Regions from separate parts of the Homo sapiens genome. Here all the other regions are linked to region 1. The links are contacts of gene promoters, found by promoter capture Hi-C in blood cells and fetal thymus (Javierre and others, 2016). All regions are on one chromosome and are shown on one strand. Each heading gives the region's core, a stretch centred on a gene start or on the middle of the fragment in contact. The rest is flanking DNA. Distances are from core to core; before and after follow the strand shown. Region 1 holds the start of CLDN24 (claudin 24). Region 2 overlaps DCTD (dCMP deaminase). Region 3 has its middle 15 kb from the start of DCTD.

Evidence for each region. The method cuts DNA at HindIII sites, captures the fragments that hold promoters and counts their contacts. A CHiCAGO score of 5 or more calls a contact.
Region 2: a fragment that was not itself captured here is called in contact with the fragment with the promoter of CLDN24 in region 1 in 1 of 17 cell types (endothelial precursors); the score reaches 5.3 in endothelial precursors.
Region 3: a contact is called between a fragment that was not itself captured here and the fragment with the promoter of CLDN24 in region 1, in 1 of 17 cell types (M1 macrophages). The highest score is 5.4, in M1 macrophages.

Annotation. Positions count from the first base shown.
Region 1 is chr4:183,320,887-183,324,504 of GRCh38, reverse strand. CLDN24 (claudin 24) reads left to right here and starts at 2,079. Exons shown (of 1, transcript NM_001185149.1): 1 at 2,079-2,741. The coding sequence starts at 2,079. The coding sequence ends at 2,741. The HindIII fragment of the contact is 2,424 bases long and covers 535-2,958 here.
Region 2 is chr4:182,909,573-182,913,190 of GRCh38, reverse strand. The region is part of intron 3 of DCTD (dCMP deaminase); the gene reads left to right. Among named protein-coding and RNA genes, the nearest start is that of DCTD, 6.0 kb to the left of the region's middle. The HindIII fragment of the contact is 1,680 bases long and covers 791-2,470 here.
Region 3 is chr4:182,930,640-182,934,257 of GRCh38, reverse strand. No RefSeq gene overlaps it. Among named protein-coding and RNA genes, the nearest start is that of DCTD, 15 kb to the right of the region's middle. The HindIII fragment of the contact is 939 bases long and covers 1,386-2,324 here.

The sequences.
Region 1 (3,618 bases), core at 830-3,329:
TGGCGCATCTTGGCTCACTGCAACCTCTGCCTCCCCGGTTCAGGCGATTCTCCTGCCTCAGCCTCCTGAGTAGCTGGGATTACAGGCGCCCGCCACCATGCCTGGCTAATTTTTGTATTTTTAGTAGAAACGGGGTTTCACCATGTTGGTCAGGCTGGTCTCAAACTCCTGACCTTGTGATCCGCCTGCCTCGACCTCCAAAAGTCTTGGGGTTACAGGCATGAGCCACCGCGCCCAGCCCACAACATATTTTTTTAATGCTGACAGAATAAATGAATTGGGAAGGTGCTCAGAGGTTATGCAGGTCCAACACCCACCACAGCAGAAATCCCCTCCGTGATAACCTTGGCAGGTGATAACCTTTGGCTTAGATGCCTGCAGCAGGGAGAGCTCACTACGTCACGGAGCAGCCTATTCCATTAGGTTTTTAAAAAGCGTTTCACTGTGATATTAAGAATCATCTCCCTATGATCTTTCCCACTTGCTCTCCAGGCCTTCACCACCCCGACTGCCTCCTGGAAGAGAGCTCAAGCTTGCCATATCCTGTGCACTGGTGATGAGGCCCCAGACAGGTCTCCGGCCCTCTGGATCCAGGTACCTTTAAGCACCCTGGAATGACTTATTTCAGGATGGTGGGGGCACCAATACATCCTCAGGAATTCTGAAAATTTGTAAAAATTAAGGAAGAGTTCATCTGGTGCATAGTTTTTTCTTTTTAAACTTAAGATGATAGGAAAAGCTGAAGAAAGTACCACCTCAAATCTACATCTTATGCAATCTTATCCAAAGTAATTTGGATACATCGGGATCCATGTTCTGTCTCTCCGATCTCCTATTTAGAGACACAATAGAAGATAATTTCTGATCCTGGGCTACACTCCACTGTTGCAACGTGATGGGCAGTGGTTCTACTTCTCCAGGTTAGAACCTCTCAGGGGAGTGGCTCCACCTTTAGGGACTTTTCTGTCCTGTGGGCCCATCTGATTTTATCTCCTCTGAGCAGGTGCAGGATGCCCAGGGGCCATGTGGAGAGGAGACGGTGCAGCCCTGGGAATCTGGGGCAGGTGACCTCTTGTCCTGGCCTGTGAGGCCGGTCCTGTGTTCTCTGAGGGGTCAACCCTCTGCGTAAGTATGCTCTCAAGGTGTGGCCTCAACCAAAAAAATAAACAAGATGAAGCCTCGAAGTTCAGCTCCATTGTGGCTATTGTGTTTGTACCAGAGACTTTTGTCTGGGAGCTGGCAGGAGTCTTGAAGCCTGGTGTTGCTCTGCGTAAGCTGCTGAAATGACAAGGGGACAGCTCAGCTCTGGACAAAAAACACCTCCCTGGACGCTAAGATATCATGCTTTACCCCCAAGTCCTTAACGAGGATGGAGAAAACCACAGAGTGAATGCTGGAACTGCCCGGGACGTTCCCTTCCGCACTCAGTAGCCCCCAGCATCAGCCTCAGTCCTTTTCATTTTAATCAGTCCCGTAAGCCAGCCTCTACCTTTCAAAGGAATCCGAGGAACCTTCCTGCCAACTCTGAGCTCCTGCGACACTCGAGGATGTGGGCCAGGCTCTTGTGTAGGTTAAGGAAGTCTGAGAAGAATAGAGATTATAGGAAACAGTCTACCTTTCTTTACAAGACCTTGTTTTGCATCCCTGAAATTTCAGATTCAGCTCTTACAATGAAGTCCTGTTGTAGAAAGAGCTGGCCTTTTATCACCACTTAAAATCTAATTAATCCATACTGAAGCACAAAGATTTCTGTTGTATTTTAGGGTGAGGGGTCATAGAGCCCTCTTTGTTCATCCTTAGACTTATAATCATCAAGCATTGGGGATATAATTTTACCAAATTGGAAGGTAACAGATCAAGTCCTTATCAGAAAGCCCAACTCATAGTTTTAACAGAGTCCTTCGTCCTTTACGTGAAACATTATATTCAAGAAGAACAAAAACGCATTTCAGAGTGCCCAAAGAGTTAATGACCACAGCTTATATTCCAGGCAGCATAGAACCAAGATTGTCACATTACCGTCAACCACAAAGGACAGCAGATCCTATAGGGGTGGCAAAGTCCTAAGACCTGTCGCAATGGCTTTAATCTTTAGAACAGCAATGCAATCTGTTGGACTTTTACTATCTCTCCTGGGATGGATTTTATCCATTATTACAACTTATTTGCCACACTGGAAGAACCTCAACCTGGACTTAAATGAAATGGAAAACTGGACCATGGGACTCTGGCAAACCTGTGTCATCCAAGAGGAAGTGGGGATGCAATGCAAGGACTTTGACTCCTTCCTGGCTTTGCCTGCTGAACTCAGGGTCTCCAGGATCTTAATGTTTCTGTCAAATGGGCTGGGATTTCTGGGCCTGCTGGTCTCTGGGTTTGGCCTGGACTGTTTGAGAATTGGAGAGAGTCAGAGAGATCTCAAGAGGCGACTGCTCATTCTGGGAGGAATTCTGTCCTGGGCCTCGGGAATCACAGCCCTGGTTCCCGTCTCTTGGGTTGCCCACAAGACGGTTCAGGAGTTCTGGGATGAGAACGTCCCAGACTTTGTCCCCAGGTGGGAGTTTGGGGAGGCCCTGTTTCTGGGCTGGTTTGCTGGACTTTCTCTTCTGCTAGGAGGGTGTCTGCTCAACTGCGCAGCCTGCTCCAGCCACGCTCCCCTAGCTTTGGGCCACTATGCAGTGGCGCAAATGCAAACTCAGTGTCCCTACCTGGAAGATGGGACAGCAGATCCTCAAGTGTAAGACTCCGACAAGGCCAGAGATGTATCCTGTATCAACTGTGATGACAAAGACCTCTTTGTTTTGTAGCTAAACCTGTGATGCTCACGTTTTCTCATTCACTATTTTTCTACAGTAGGTAGACCCACTTCCCTCTAAAATCTGAATAATGAAGGAAAAATCTTTTATCTAAAAGAAAATGATTATGGTAAGCATTATACAGGTAGAAGTGAAACAAGCTTCATTGATCTGGTTATTGAAATTAATGTGGTGGCTGTCCAATACAGTCAGTTTCAAGCTTTAATGTGTAAATTTCATATTAGAAAGCTTTTTTCTGTTTTTCTTTTTTTTGTTGTTGCTGTTGGTAGTCAGAAATGATCTTTAGTTTCTGTTTCCTAAAGAAAAAAACTAACAATCTGAAAATTTTAAGTGTTCTACTTTAGCAAAACCACATGCTAAGCCAACCTCAAAGTGTTATTTCCACAACAATGACCTTTTTCTTCTTTGAACAGAAGTGGTTTGTTTTTAGGATATTACCAGGCACTCAGTGCGGCAAGATTTTATGAGGCTGAAGAGTTTTCAGTACCTTGTGATCCTCTCAGATTTAAAATGGTGGCCAATCTCTTCTCTCATCCTTTCCCTCAAAACCTTCGTATTAAAAAAAGAAAAACAATTCCAAAGACATTTTTCTTGATATCCTGATATTGTCAGGTCATTTGAATAAAACCTTTCCTTTGTTCAATGAAAAATCGCTAACATGGGGATATCTACTTTAGTGGTGAATAAACAGAAATGCTGACTCCAACCTGCAGAGTCCAAATGCTGAACTTTCCTCGGCACAGAAAGCATATATAAGAAAAAAAAGTGTTTATGCACACAAGCGTGAATTTGACAGAAAGGC
Region 2 (3,618 bases), core at 381-2,880, 410 kb after region 1:
ACTCAGAAACTGTCACCCTGATTTTGATTCTATAAGCTTTTGATGGTAAGAAAGAAGGGAAGTGATTAGTTGTTTTTAAGTCCATGCAAAGATAATTTTTCACAGTGCGGTTCAAAGTCCCCTATAAAAATGGTGAAAGTGGAGGGTCGATATGTTAAAGGTCTGCATTGAACTGTGTGACGGCCACAGTCAGTATGTCACCGAGTCTGGGCAGTGAAATATTGGCCCTGGGGCTGGACTTTGATATGGAGGAATTCTGGGGGGATGGCGGTCCGTCATACTCAAGCTGGTGCAAAAGATACCCGTGGTTGGACAGTGCGGAGGGGTCCTGGGTGAGCACTGAGTGGGCCTCCCAATGGGGCCTGTGCCTTCTTCAGTCACCCAGAGCCCCCAGCAGATCTTTAAGCAGTGACCTGGAAGCCAAGGGCCATGCAGTACATTTGCAGCACCTGCCCCACACCCCAGACTTCCCAGCTCTCCTGACTTCCCGTGTAGCTGATTTTGTTGGTTATGAGACACTGCCTTTTGTCCAAATTGAGGAGAGTACCTTTCAGAGCCCCTTTCTAGAAGGAATTTTTTTAAAAACCTGCATAGGTATTTGTCCAACTTCACCGATTGTTTTTTATTGAATAGCTCCTGAGCTCCTGGGCACTGGTTGTCTGTCTGCATTATTTTTTATTATCCATATGATACCTCTAGGTTTTCAAAGCTCTTTGCTCTTACTTATCAATTATTCATTTATATGTAGCTGTGTTAGAATGTCGACAGTTTTCTTTCACGAGAGTAAGCTTGTAATTTGATGTACCATAAAAGTTGTAGAAGGTATTAAATGGTTTCTAAAAGGCATTTAGTATTACTGCCGCCATAATACAGTAAAGATGGGCTTAAAGTCTAAATGACGATGACTGTGTATAAACTGTACACTTGTTGTCTTCTCAAGGTTTTTCAGGCCACAGAGAAGTAAATGTTTGGATTGCCTGGGATGTCACAGAAATGTTTGCTGATAATTGACTCAAATGCAAAGTCTTTTTTTTTTTTTTTGCTTTCGTTTTAAGATTTTCAAAATTAATTTAAAAAATAAGGGGATACTGCCTGGAGTTGGATAGCTCAACCCATTCTTTCCTCATCTACATTAATGGTGACTGAGCTGCTGTAGCAGGAAGGGTAAATTCATAGGTTAATCCCTGTAAAGGAGCTTTAGAGATTATCTCGAGTTCTGGACAATGATTTTTAACTCTTTTGAATGTACAGGACCCTCTTTTAAATGCTGAAAAACTTCCAGGACCCCTGCATAATGCTAAATTCTTAGTATCTTTTGAGTAAGAAACTCCACAATGACAAAAACTACTTCGTATCAGTAACATTTTTTGTTAATCTGAACTTTATTAATTGGATAGCATTTATGTATGTTTGGGAAAAGTTTATGTATGTCCTGGACATGGGATTTATCCAGTTGTGGATATGCTTGGACCCCTTGCAATACCTTAGTAGTGTCTCAGGGTTCTATGCCCACAGGATCTAAGCCTCCTCCTTTCTTGTAAGTAACTTCTATAATGTCACACATGCAGGGTGACATCTCCTAATTCCAAGGTCAGTGCTCTTCCTGCTACCTCCCTGTGTCTCTCCTGTGGGGCACATGAATTCAGCTGTACTGAAATGCCAATCATTGTCTCATTTTTTTTTGCAGTTGATCAGACTGAGGCTCCGATAAAATAATTACTCCTCAGAGATCAGGAGCTCGGGGAGGGGTGGCCTGTGTCCGGCATCATGCAGAAAGCCACATGCGTGGCTCACTGTAACATTTCTTCAAAGGGGAGTGCAGTGGACTGAATGTGTCTCCCCCCAAATTCACATGTTGAAACCCTAATTCCAATGTGCTGATATTTGGAGGTGGGGCCTGGGGGGACGTAATTAGGCCATGAGGGTGGAGCTCTCCTGAATGGGATTAGTGCCCTTCTAAAAGGGACCCCAGGGAGCTCAGTTACTCTTTTTCCATGTGCAAGGATAGGCGGAGAAGATGGCTATCTGCAACCCTGAAAGGAGACCTTGCCAGAATCTAACCATGCTGGTGTCCTGACTTCCAGCCTCCAGAACCATGAGAAATAAATGTCCATTGTTTCTCAGCCACCCAGTCTATGGGACTTTGTTATAGCAGCCCCAAGGGACTGTGACAGGGAGCTTGAGAACTGTGTAAATTTGAGTTTACCAAATAACATACAGCTTAATACTGCTTTATTAATTCCGTAAGTCGGAAGTCATTAGTCCTGATTGATGCCTTGTGGGGAGGAGGGAAACACACACTACTTGTAACATAATAGGAAGATGGAGCTTTTCCTGGGCTGTGTCTCTAGAGAGTTATTTTTAAAGGGTGTTTTTGTTCTTCCAGTCTTGGGATCAAAACTTCATAAAACTATTTTATTATAATGTAGTATTAATGTGGAAAATGAAAATTCCCTCTGCTAAAGAAGCTTTTTATTCCATCCTTTTCCTGAAAAATCCAAAAGATAATATGATGTCAGTAACATTAAGTGGCAGGAAGAAGGCAATGTTATTATACTAAGAATCTTTTCAGATGAATGACAATTAAAAAAGAGGAAGCAGCAGATTTATCTAATTTACAAGATTAAAAAACTTGGGAAGATTTTTATTTTCATGAGGGGGTGGGTTGCTAAACCTGTGATGAAGTATTCAGTTGACATTTTTCATTCCTTTTTCTTTGTGGAATTCATTATAGTGAAGCACATTTAATCAAAATACCAATGTTATCAAATGAGGTAAAATACTCTTGGTGATTCAGATATCACTCTTTCCTTGGGTTTTCGTAACCGATTTTGATGATATAGTTTACAAATTAGAGAGTTGGAGAATTAACTTGTTCCCGTTGTTAAACTTAAGGGAATTTTTAGTAATGCTTGCCACATGTATCCAGCTGCCCAGCACTTGTGGCCTTGCTGATTTCTGCTGGCAAAGGGCTCTGGGTTTTGGTGAGTGCCTCTGTGCTTGGCCTCCTATCCCACCCAATGGACCAGGGAGCCAGGGTTGCTTGGCCTGCTGCATCTCACTGCACCAGGGAGGGAACCGTAGCATCTCAGTGTCCCCAAGAGTCGGGGGAGGCCTCACTCTGAGTGCGTTGGGTAGAAGTGGGGCTCTTACCCGAGTCAGTTCCTATGTCTACAGGGATACTCTAAAAAGGATGTAATGCTGGGAAGGAAAATGCTGAAAAACCTGGAATTAATTAAGGCGAAAGAGTTCAGCAGAGCATCTTAAACACCTTTGCCAGTGTGGGGCAGTGCCTCTTTAAATTCTCTATTTAAATTTCATCTTTATTTTTCAGACTTAGCATATTGTTAAGCATGCATAGATGTCACTTTTGTGATTACTTAGCCATTTACTTTACCCCCTTGAACACTGACATTTTCCTGACTGCCATGCACGTGATATATTTCTTTGGCATCTGAAAGGTTAGTGTTGAGAAACTAATTTATCAAGAAGTTAGGAGGCTGATCCTTCTTAAGATATGACTTCCTCACAACTTGTAAGAGCTTCTTAGTAATTAAGATCAAATTTGTTCTTTCCGTCCTGAAATTGAATGTCCTCTGGTTTCGTTAGTCAGTCCAT
Region 3 (3,618 bases), core at 606-3,105, 390 kb after region 1:
TGGAGAGACTGGCCTTTGATAGAAAAGGAAGTTGTTTTCTCAGTTGCTAAAGGAAAGAAAAAAAATCAACAATGTCAAGTGTGGATGAGTTTGTGAATCTGATGGTGGGAAGGTGAGGGCGGATCTGATGGCCCCTATTTTCTCAGCCAAGTGTAAGTTAAAGTGGATGGAGGATGTGAGGAGGCCACTAGGAAGGGTAGAGAGTTTGAGAAGAGAGAAGAAATGGTCTTCTTGGAGACAGGGACAGTAATCTTACTAGCAAAAATGCACTGGGTTGCTGGGTTACAGTGAAAGCCCATTTGGGGTGCAGGAGGATGAATTTTAAAGTGAAGCCAATTTGCTTAGTTGTATGAATCTGGCCAAAGTTCACCTGCTGGGTGCAGCTGAGGAGGAGTGAGCACCTGGGTCTCCTTAGGCAAGCATGATGCAGGGAGAGGGGGCAAGGTGGTTATAATGACGGGCCATGGGGTGTAATCTGGAGAAAAAATGTGAAGGAAGGAAAGGACTGATGGAGATCAAGAAACCGAGAATTTTATGTCATAATTAAAGGCGAAATATGGTAGAAATACTTGATCAAGTGACATAGAAGATAAGAGGTCATGGCTGGTATATGTAGTGTTCTGGAGGTGATGCAAGTTTGGGCGAGGCATGTGAATCACGCAGCCTATGGCAGTCATGGAGCAGAGGAAAATGTATTCATTGGCCCTAGGAAGCCCAGGAACTGATTGGCAGGGTGTTGGGTGGGTCATCTAAGTAGCTACTGAAGATGTCAAAAAAGGTGATGAAGGATACCTGAGGGACAGAGGTCGGGTCCGGTTGGGGATATGTTGGTACTGACAGATGCTGTGAGTCTCAAGGGAGAGAGGTGGGAGGTGATGGTCTGGAGTGGCAATAGTCACCTCCACAGATAAGCTTTGGGACAGCCTGGTTTCAGTGAAGGTTAGGAAATGGATCCAGCCTGCAGGAAGAGGCTGAAGCTAGAGGGCAGGGCTTGCTGTTACTTCTGGAGCAGGGATTCCGGGGGCCATAGTGCATGGCACACAGGTAATATGTTTGTTCTGTATTATTAATAATGTTTTCATTGACCGAAAAAGAAATAAGTGCCTGTCAAAGAAAAATTGGGAAATACAGGTAAGTATGGAGAAGACAATAAAAACCATCCATAATCTGACTCTTGGTGACGACAACTTTTAAATGTTTTGTGTTTTTCCTTCCAGTCTTGCCCCTACATATCTGCACACATTGCCCAAATTAACCATGTGTGTAATTGGGTAAGCTAAGATGCAGTATAGGTTAGAGATTGAGTCCATAGGCTCTGGAGTCAAATCGACATAAGTTCAAATCCTGGCTCTGTGATTTATTAGTCGTGTGAACTTAGCCAAGCTTCTTAAATCTCTGACTCGGTTGTTTATAAAATAGAGATAATAAGATAATTCGTTGCGTCATTGGTTAATATGAGGATGAAATGAGACAATGTATATATAGCAACTTACCACAGCATCTGGTACACAGTAAGTTCTCAACACATTTTTCTCTTTATCTTTTTTAAATGAACATTTCCCATATTATTAATAATTCTTAAAGTCCAGGATTCTTCCTATTTACTGAGTATCCATTGTACTGATGTACACTGTGTCTATCCCTTTTTGATGACAGCATAATACAGAAGTCGAGGCAGCCTCCAGAGTCAAAATGCCTGGGTTTGACTCCTGGCTCCGCCACTTATCCCTGTGACTTTGCTGAGTTACTCAACTTCTATAATTTCAATTTTCTGATCTGTGAAATGGGGATAATTATATCCCTACTGAGTTTTTGTAATAATTACCTGATGTAACACATGTGAAGTGCTCAGTAAATCTTAGTGATGTTGATTATGATGATGACGTTTGTGAATATTTATAGTGTTTCTGACATATGCCAGTTTGCATTACTGGGTTTCATAATTTCTAGAAAGTGTGGGTAACTAAAAGTGTAAAGTTTACCAGAAAAAGAGGGGCTCTGGTTGGCCAATAGACAAAATTTACTTCAAGATTCTGAAAGGTGCAAGTAAAATAAACTTGCGTAATAACAACTAATATTTCTTTTTTTAGTAAAACTGTTGAATCAAGAACAAGGCAAACCACTTCAGGAGGCCATGGAATGTGATTATAAAGTAATGAGACAGACTCCACAGCAGCCAGCCTTATAATTTTACAGTCACACCTAGAATGTTTCCTCTCTGCTAGAAATAGGGGGCTTTGGTGAGCCTGATTATGTCACTGATGTCCGCTGATGATGAATAAAAGTACACACAAATCTGTGAATATTCTCTTTGGCTCCAAGCTTTCATACTAGTAATATGACCGAGCATATGTCAACTGGCTTTCTTGTGAACCCTAAACTCATTCTTTTCCCCAGATATAACCTTCTATTTGGTGACTCAAGCACTAATGAATTCAATACAATGTCTGTTATTGTCAGAGAAAATTCCTGGTACATTTTTAGTTATTATCTCAGCTGATGATACGGGTCTGAATTCAAAAATGGAATCCAAATTCTTCTGAAGCTGCACTTTGGGAGGCCGAGGTAGGTGGATCACCTGAGGTCAGAAGTTCGAGACCAGCCTGGCCAACATGGCGAAACCCCGTCTCTACTAAAATATAAAAATTAGCCAGGCCCTGTGGTGGGCGCCTGTAGTCCCAGCTATTCAGGAAGCTGAGGCAGGAGAATCGCTTGAACCTGGGAGGCAGAGGTTGCAGTGAGCCAAGATCACGCCACTGCATTCTAGCCTGGGCAACAGAGCGAGGCTCCGTCTTAAAACAAAAACAAAAACAAAAATTCTTTTGAAGCTGTGTGAGATCTATCTGTTCACTTTATCTCCTGCTCTGTGCATCAAACAATGAACATTGGTTATATTAATATAATACTTTCCCACATAAAAGAAAAATCACTATTTTTTCAAGCAAAATTTTTATATTAAAATTAAAGACCTGGGAGTATCAAAAATATCGGACGGTAGAATCTGGCCAAGAGCAATACAACAAAGATATTTAAAACTGCTGCCTGCTAAATGGGGAGGCGGGGAGGCTGTGCTTCTTTCTCGCCCTTCCTTTGACAGATCTTTTGACGGAAACATCAGTGGAAAGGATTTCTGCTGTGTCTACATGAAGTGAGGAATTGGATTAGATTTTTCACATCCTGTAGACCATGGTGTATAATAATCTAGAGTAATGAAAACATCATTTGTTATGATAGATTACAAGATGACCCTGTAATAGCTAAATTGAGATCAATTACCTTGACTCCAATAAGAGTATGTTTCCACGTGGGAGGAGAGGAAAACAGGAGCAGAGTGTAACTGTGAGGAGAGCAGCTGTTGGTCACAGGGATGGAGCCTCAGAGGTCCAGGGCCCCAGGACCAGCCTCACAGGTGGGTGACTGCCCAACTCTCCTTCATAGAAGAATCCTTTGGAGAGCGGAAATGCCCTCAGGGCAACAGTTACTGCAGTTAGTACATTTTGTTAACTCTCAGATCTAGTTTTGTTTTTTTTTTTTAATTTGTGAGTTTCTTTCTTTTTGCCCTTTTTAAAAAATTTCAGCTCCATATTTCTTAATTTTACCTATTTCTTCTTTGGCTAC